3 separate regions of the Homo sapiens genome follow, and all the other regions are linked to region 3. Evidence: promoter capture Hi-C in 16 types of primary human blood cells and fetal thymus (Javierre and others, 2016). All regions are on one chromosome and are shown on one strand. The core of a region is centred on a gene start or on the middle of the fragment in contact, and the rest is flanking DNA. Distances in the headings are between cores, read along the strand shown. Region 1 overlaps LAMA2 (laminin subunit alpha 2). Region 2 overlaps TRMT11 (tRNA methyltransferase 11). Region 3 holds the start of MTCL3 (MTCL family member 3).

Region 1 (2,745 bases), core at 134-2,633, 2.0 Mb before region 3:
TTTCCTAATTTGCTTATGAGAGAGAACTCACACACTGCTAATTGAGAACCTCATGCTACTTATTTACAACAATCCTTGGATCCCTGGGCCAAGAATCAGAAGGAGACAAAGAGTTCTGATGAAAATGACCAAAGGCATTTTCTCTTTTGTTCCGGAAGCAAGTTTTGAGTTTCGGTCTTAACAGTCATCATGGTGCTATTAGTCATAAGCATTAGTCACTAGCCTGGGGATCATGAATGGATTACTGAAAACTTACTTCATATCTGGAGAGAAAACCGGAGTACTTGGATGGAAACCTCAGTCCTAAAGTACCCTCTTACTTGACTTTATAAAGAAGTAAAACCACATGTAGAACTGGAAAAAACAATAAGCCAGGGTAAAGATGCTCTGAATTGGCACTTTACAAGTAAGATAATTCAAAAGTAAGAGAAAGGGACAAAAAATGGATTTCGCTGTGGCTCAAAAACGTCACTGTTAAGGGGGTGAAGAAGGGACCGGTAAAATTTAGTTTCAAAGAGAAAATAGGGGGAAATGACATACTTTTGAGGTTTCTTTCTTTACCAAACTATGGAAAAATGTGTTGGCAAAACCCAGGAGGTTCAGCTTCCTTGCTAAGAGTGTCGGTGGTTTCCTGAGACGAGAATTTCAGAAAACCACTCACTTCCGGGTATGTGTGACTCACTGAGAAGCCCCTCCCCTACACTCTTTTTCCCCTTTAGCTGAAAGCAGCCTCTTCTTAGCAACATGATATCACAGGGCTTCTAAGGTTTTAATGAAGGATATAAGCCTCTGTTAAAGATTGTCCAAGGAGAGTAAATCTCTGTTCTTGATTAGAATTTTAAAAAGCTAGAGGCCTTCCTCTTTCTGGTGTAGCCTCTCTCTGTAGTGTGGTTCTGCCACAAGGACCATCATAGTGACCCTTATTTTTTTTAAACCAATTCACAGGGTGGTGATGGAGAATGAGTGTGGGCTTTCAGGAGGAACATACTGGAATTAAGTACTAGTGTGGAAGCTTACTAGCTGTGTGACCTTGGGCAAGTTATTTAATCATGCTCAGGTCCATTTCATTCATTTATAAGATGGAGATAAAAATACCTACTTCAAACAGCGGAAAATATTAATTAAGGGATTGCCCTGAGGCTGTATTACTTAAAAAGGGCATTGCTAGAAAACTACAGCTAAATCCTGCTCCTATTTTACCTTTTAGGAACATCAAATCTAGATCATTTCTTTAGTTTTTATTGAGAAGGACATTGCCAATATGTCCATTATGATTCTGGTGTGTTTTCCATTTTTAAAAAGTATTTATTTAACAGCTTTTTACTGAGGCCTGCTATGTGCAAAAAGGTACATTAAACTTTGTATTACTTTAGTATTGTAATAGGTCAGCTTTATTTTTTTTTTTTACAGTTTCAGTGGCTGATTCTTAGAGTTTCATAATTACTTGATTACTTATACCCTATTTCTTATTTGTTTGGAATGTGGGTTTAAGATTTTTTTTAAAACCATATCAGTTGGATTGCATACGTGGAAGAAGATATTAAGAGAAATGTGTCCTAATGTTTGTAATTTACATAATAAATAGAATCTAATCTTTTTTCTGTTTGAACATACTTTGGATGTTAAGAAAGAAAATATTTAGGGTTCAGTGTTAAAATCTTTATCTCATTCTGGAAACCCCAAATGACTCCTAAAATATCTCACCCTACTTCCTGACCTTTAGCCTATTTCTGTACCTGTGTGAAGAAAGCTTTCCCAGAAGAAAAACTCAGTTCAGTTGCTTGTCCTATTTGCTTAAGTAACTACTTCAGGCTCTTAGGGTTTGATGTTTTTGTCCAGTAAGAACTGCTGGCCACCAAGGCGGATGCCAGGAGAAGGATCAGAGGACAAAGCAGATATAGGAGGCAGAGGTCACTGGAGTGCCAAGAAATTAGATACCAAAGTGACTAAAGGGAGATTTTTCCAGATGAAGGGGTGGAAGGGAGAGAGAATGAGGGAGGAGGAGTAAAGAGAGGCAGAGGACAAGGGAGAAGGAGCTTCTTGAGAAGCTTGGCCCCCAGTTTGGTGAAAATCCAATTATTTTGTGAGGCGGTATTAAAGCTATCATTTTGTCCAGGATTTTAGGAAAAGAAATGATGACTGACATGCATAGTCTGAAAATCTGAAAAGTGTTGGGATAATGCAAATATCTCCAAATTAATAATCATACATCATAATCAACATTTAGTAATATAAACCTTTATGGTCACACAAAAATGTAAGAATAATCTATTGGCTGTGCATAGATGGAGGTATTTAAGTCAAATATATCATCTCATTTAATACCTGGTCCTGTTATTTGTAGTACATGATTTTGGGCAGGTTAGTTAATATTTTCTCATCTGTGATGAAAGGATGTTATTACAGATCTCACATACATTCAGAACAATGAAAACAAATCATCTTTGTCTAGTATGTGACACAAATCATGCCATAGAATAGGCATATAAAGCATTAAAAATTTTTTCTGGGTGAAGTTCTCATGGTCACTTGCGATCTCTGGTCAATCAGTTTAATGTGGCACTTGCTTATAGAGTAGATTGCATTTTAACCTTAGAGTGCCGAATGAGCCATTATGGTAGCAAATGTATTACTGTTTTGGCACAGAGTTCAGTGACTACACACTAATATGTCATATATTATCCTGTAATTAACAATGAATGGCAAAACTGTTCGTTTATATGGCCAATTAACTAAATGACTGGT
Region 2 (2,763 bases), core at 127-2,626, 1.5 Mb after region 3:
TATTCACTCACCAATTAGATAAACAAAAGCAAAATATGCTACTAAACAAATTACATTAAATTAAGTAAAGCTACACACTCTGTTAATAAGAGTGTTATATATGCCATTCACAAGTCTTGTACTGTATCACAGACAGGGCTGTGCCATTAATAGGTATTCAATAAATTCATGATGATCATTCCTTTAGCCAAACTCACATGAGAATAGTAGCACTTCCTAACAACTAAGAGATGACACAATGCTATGTCTCTTCCCCTTTGGGAAAGTGGAGACACACACTTTAAAAAAAGAATTTTTACTAAAATGAAAACCAATGTATTTGTTAAAATTGAAAGAAAAGTGTGTTTCTGCCGCTCATAATGTCATTCTAAACAACAGTAGCAAACAGTCTAAAGGAAAAAAGGAAAAGTATTTAGGCATGAAAAGATTATTTTTCTCCTTTCAGTCTCCCAGAAGCTTTCTACCCTACTCTATATCCCTGAGAAAAATCACGAACCATGAGTAGTAAGTGAGCAATACATTTGGGAAACTACATACATTTCAATTTTGTACCTTTAAAATAAAAAGGGGATTAGACACATGAATTTTTTTTAAAAAACTATTTAAAAGGCAACCAAAAGAAAAATATCAACAAATGTTTTGTGAAAACTATGGCCATGGAGAAGGACACAGAGCTACGTATTTCTCCAGTCCTTCAGAAGGTACCACCCATCGATGAGGCAAAAGGCCCAAGAGAGGACAAACTGTGCTTAAGACCTGTGTCTATTCACAATTATTGGTTATTATGTTTCAAAACAAAAGCACCAAAAATTGACTGATGTCCTAAAGCTATACTTAAACTACAAACACAAATTACGAAAATATATTTCAGCAGCACCTTTGCAAAGATCCTCCTCTCATTTTCTATTAATTGTACTATATGAACAGTCAGACGTTCCAAATATACTACCCACTGTGAGGAGCTGCCCTAAAGCAAACAGAAGCAGGTCTCCTTGCCCCTCAACACACTATAAATGGTCCATATATTGACAGCTGTGAAGATAATTTCAAAATCTAGCCTCATCTACTCAACAAAAAAATATTACCCATACTGGCAACCATATTTTTTAACTCTGTGGTCTAGTCTATGTGTATGTATATATATTAATCATTTTCTACATGTATATATCTAAAAGAATTATTCTCAATTGACAAAAAAAGTTTTTAAAGTCCAAGAACAAGATTAAGAATAAAAGCTTTAGCATTTGGAAAAAGGTAAATTAAATCCATTCTTCACATCATACTGGAGAATAATCTCCAAATGAACCAGAGATCTAAAAAGAAAAAATGTAAAACTACAAAAGCACTAGAAGAAAACACAAATGAATTCCTCTATAACTTGAGTGTGGGGAAAACTTTTGCATGGCAAAAATCAATTAGTAGCAAAGTCAAAAGATAAATGACAAGCTAAGGGAAAATACTGCAGCATACATCACAGAAAAATAAGGGGAGTGTGAGGAGGTTGTATCTCAAGCTTACAAAGGACCTTGAAAAATCAGGGAAAGAGACCAAAAATGCTATCAAAAAATGGGCAAAAGACAAAAAAAGACAAATCAAAGAAAGTCATAATGGCCCTTAAAATATAAAAAATTGTGATACTTCATTCGTAACCATAGACATACAAATTAACACTACATTGAGATATCATTTTTCACCCAACAGAACAAGCAAAACTTCAAAAGCCTGAAATATACTCTGCTGGTGAGACTGTGGAAAAACAGGGACTCTCCTACAACTGTTGGTAGGAATCCAAAATAGTATAATGGAGACAAATTTGGCAGTATCTAATGAAACTGCATATGCATACACTCTTCAACCCAGAAATCCTACTTGTAAGAATTTACCCTAGGACAGAGGGGTCCAATCTTTTGGCTTTCCTGGGCCACATTCGAAGAAGAATTGTCTTGGGCTGTACATAAAATACACTAACACTAATGATAGCTGGTGAGCTAAAAAAAATTGCAAAAATTCTCATAACGTTTTAAGAAACTTTACAAGTTTGTATCAGGCCACATTCAAAGCCATCTGGGCCACATGTGGTCCATGGGCTGCGGGTTGGATAAGCTTGCCCTAGAGCTACATCTCCAACATTACAAAGGTATATATTCATAAGGTTAGTCATTTCAAGCATTATTTGTAACTGTAAAATACTGAAAACTACCGATGTCCAACTATAGGAGATTGTTTGAATAAATTACGGTACATACACTCATGAAGCAAAACTAAAACAGAATAAAGATAAGCTCCATGAACTGACAGGAAGTGATTTCCAGGAAATACCATTAAGTGAAAAAAGCAAAGTTAAAACCAACACACACAGTATGATACCTTTTGTGTAAGAAAGTAGCGAAAATAAGAAAATGTATATATTCCATTATGAATCAGAAAATGTATTATCATTACAAAAAGAAACAGGAAGAATCAACTAGAAAACAATGAAGTTAGTCACCTAGGATAGGTGGGAGAACAGGCTGGAAGCGTTATAAAGGTAAAGTGACATCTCTTTGAGTACCACTTCTTGTGTAGTTCTGACTTTTGGAAGCAAGTTCATCTTATACATATTTGAAAATAAAAGTAAATCAATAAGGAGTGGGGGATAGGAGATAAAAACCTAAAACAGAGGGCAAACTGGAACAAATGAACCCAAATGAATTTTAAATGAAAAGGGAAAAAGCAGGCACAGTATTTGACTTTACTGCCCCTTAGGGTGAAGAACTGAAAACA
Region 3 (2,700 bases), core at 96-2,595:
AGGACTATGCATATTCTGTGTCTTTAGACTGTGTTTACAGTATCAATATTTTATTGGTAAAGATTGAGCTGAAAAATATTTGTATCTACTTTATCCATTTTGATTGGATGAGACATGTGCATCTTGATATTTCTTGAGGATATTACAGCTCAAGTTTGGGTACATAATAAGAAATTGCCTAATATAAATTCAAACCAACTTGTGATTACATTTTCACTTGCTTTTTTTTTTTTCCTTTATTTTTGGTATGCTAGTCGAGGTGTGGGCTTTTTATTATAAATGTCACAGATGTCACTTTTCCTGTTCCCAAAGGTATTTGAAAGAAAATAAGGAAATTATCTCAGTTTTCACCAGTATGCTTGAGTGTCCCCAGCACAGGGACAATTTCTTGATTCAGCTTTGCATCCCAGTACCTTGGACAGTGCCAGGCTCAAAATTGGCTTTTAATACCTATTTTGGAACATGAATGATTTTATCGTGATATCATATTTGTTTTATGTGTCTCTAAAGATAAGAATAACCAGAGCTTGAGCATGTTTTTATTTTGCTGTAATAATTGCTTTTATGCAAACTACTCCTAAATTGTTTTTATTTCACTTTTAATGCAAGATCAACACTTGGAAAATTGAATCTCTTGAGCCAAAATTCATGTTGGCACAAAAAGCTATTATTATTTCAAGATATCTTCTTCCTTTTACTTACAAAATCACCATATAAATGTAAGACAAATTAAATTTTAAAATGCCCTTTCAAAAGCAGTACTTACTTTTATTCTCATACTCAAGCTCACAAAGGAATTCTTAGAGGTAGAAGGGAGGCTCCCATGCCCCCCGCCCACCACTGAAAGAAGAAACTGAAAAGAAAAAGAGAAAATTCCACTTAATTTTTAAAAATATTATTACTGTGAAACAGTATGGGTTAGTGTAAATTGTAAAGACATGTATATTCTGAACTCCTCTTTTTAAATGAATTCCCTTTTAGGCTGATATAATGTATTCTTCCTGGTTTCTGTTATTGTTCGCATGCACTACTATAAAGATTATGGATCCCAGCAATTACTCATTTTCACGGTAGAAACCGGCACTCAGTAGAAAACAGGAAAACGTACTGAAGGCAAACCGTTCTGTAAAGGATCTCTGTGGGCCGATATTTATTTCGGTTTGCACTAAATTAGTCGTGGCTTCGCAAGAACCCTTTGTCTGTGGGACGGTGGGTCCCATCATGGCAACCATTATCTATTCGTGGAAACGACATCTGATGACTCCGCCCGGGCTGGGGGTGGGGAGGGAGCACCGCGTGTAGAGCTCGACTGAGAATTAAAGTGAGTGAACAAAGAGAACTCCCAGCAGCCGCCAGCCAGCTGCATCAGGAGATGTTAGTCACGCCCGGAAGGCTGTTCTAGTCCGCCTCCTTGGAAAAGAAGCTCAAGTAAATAATTGATGGAGAATGACCGAACCCAGGACAAAGCTTTGCAGGAAACCAGTGCATCCGTGTTCGAGCGGTTTTGGGATCCTCTGCCAAGTACGGGATAAGAGAATAGAGCAAGGAGTTTGAGCGCTGCTGCCAATCTTCCATCTCGGGCGTGGCTCTGGCCTTTTTGTCTCTTTATCCCGCCACTCCCCACCCCCGTCCCCCGTCCCCCTCCCCGCCTTCTTCTCTTTCCTCTTGAAAGTAACCTCTCTTTGGTTACTTCTACCCTATCGTCCCTTGCAATCCCGCCTTCTCTCCTGCCCAGTTCGGTGAGGTCAGCTCATGAACATCTCTGCACTTCCTGGGGAGCGTCTGGCCCAGCTTGGTACCTCGCGTGTTAGCCTGCTGAGAGCTGCAGCTCCAGCCCAGCCGCGGACCGCCGGGAAGTCACCCGCTCTGGGGGCAGCTGAATCTTGACGTTACCGCCATTGTTTGGAGAAATCGAGTGGGTGTGGAACTGCGGCGAGCGAGCCCAAAGTCATGCTCAGCCGGAAAGTCGCATACAATAATATGAAGTTGAACTTTCCTCGGCGCAGAAAGGCACAATAATAAACCCTGAGATCCCCGGAATATCAGAAGGAAAGTGCTGTTGATTTGTTCAGCTACTTGGAAACCTCGCCTCTGCTGAGAAGTGAGCAAGTTCTGGATTTCTAAAGGGTTGGGGATGAATGATGGGGTGGGTTAGCAGGCGGATAAAACTTGAGATTAAAAGTGTTGGTCTAAGCCGTGCAGGGGTTGGTTGGGTGATAATTTTCACCGGGAAAGCCTTGAAGAGATGCAGCATCTTGTCACTTTGTGGGAACCACGTGACAGCAGCCGGATACCTTTGATTGTGGAGCCCAGTTACTGGAACACAAGCTTTCGCCTGGGTTAATGCTGTCTGAGGGCTGAGTTTAAACATTGGCTTCTCAGCTCTGGAATTATTCTGCCTGATTAAAAACAAAAATAAGTTTGCATTGGCAATATAAGTTAGTTAGATAGCCCATGTTAGTGCCACCCATGATGATAAACTAGGCCAGACATTCTAGTAGTATCGCGACTGGGAGAGAAGATGTAGAAAACAAGTTGGTGGGCAATTTTCCCCCGATGTCTTCTTTGTTCACCTTTATATTTCAAAGTGAGTTGGAAGGAGATGCCAGAAACAGAAAGGGAGGTGGATTAGGAACCCTTCGGTAATATTTCTTTATAAAATGAGGAATTACTGCATGCTAAGTTGTGATGCTAACAATA

Evidence for each region. The method cuts DNA at HindIII sites, captures the fragments that hold promoters and counts their contacts. A CHiCAGO score of 5 or more calls a contact.
Region 1: a fragment that was not itself captured here is called in contact with the fragment with the promoter of MTCL3 in region 3 in 1 of 17 cell types (fetal thymus); the score reaches 5.6 in fetal thymus.
Region 2: a contact is called between a fragment that was not itself captured here and the fragment with the promoter of MTCL3 in region 3, in 1 of 17 cell types (total B cells). The highest score is 5.9, in total B cells.

Annotation. Positions count from the first base shown.
Region 1 is chr6:129,488,591-129,491,335 of GRCh38, reverse strand. The region is part of intron 56 of LAMA2 (laminin subunit alpha 2); the gene reads right to left. Among named protein-coding and RNA genes, the nearest start is that of ARHGAP18, 220 kb to the left of the region's middle. RefSeq lists an enhancer at 1-764. The HindIII fragment of the contact is 738 bases long and covers 1,015-1,752 here.
Region 2 is chr6:126,002,511-126,005,273 of GRCh38, reverse strand. All of the region lies in intron 7 of TRMT11 (tRNA methyltransferase 11), which reads right to left. Among named protein-coding and RNA genes, the nearest start is that of TRMT11, 17 kb to the right of the region's middle. The HindIII fragment of the contact is 278 bases long and covers 1,238-1,515 here.
Region 3 is chr6:127,517,980-127,520,679 of GRCh38, reverse strand. MTCL3 (MTCL family member 3) reads left to right here and starts at 1,345. Exons shown (of 7, transcript NM_001400265.1): 1 at 1,345-2,101. It overlaps SOGA3-KIAA0408 (SOGA3-KIAA0408 readthrough), which reads left to right and starts at 1,345. Exons shown (of 13, transcript NR_174482.1): 1 at 1,345-2,101. The HindIII fragment of the contact is 11,602 bases long and covers 1-1,469 here.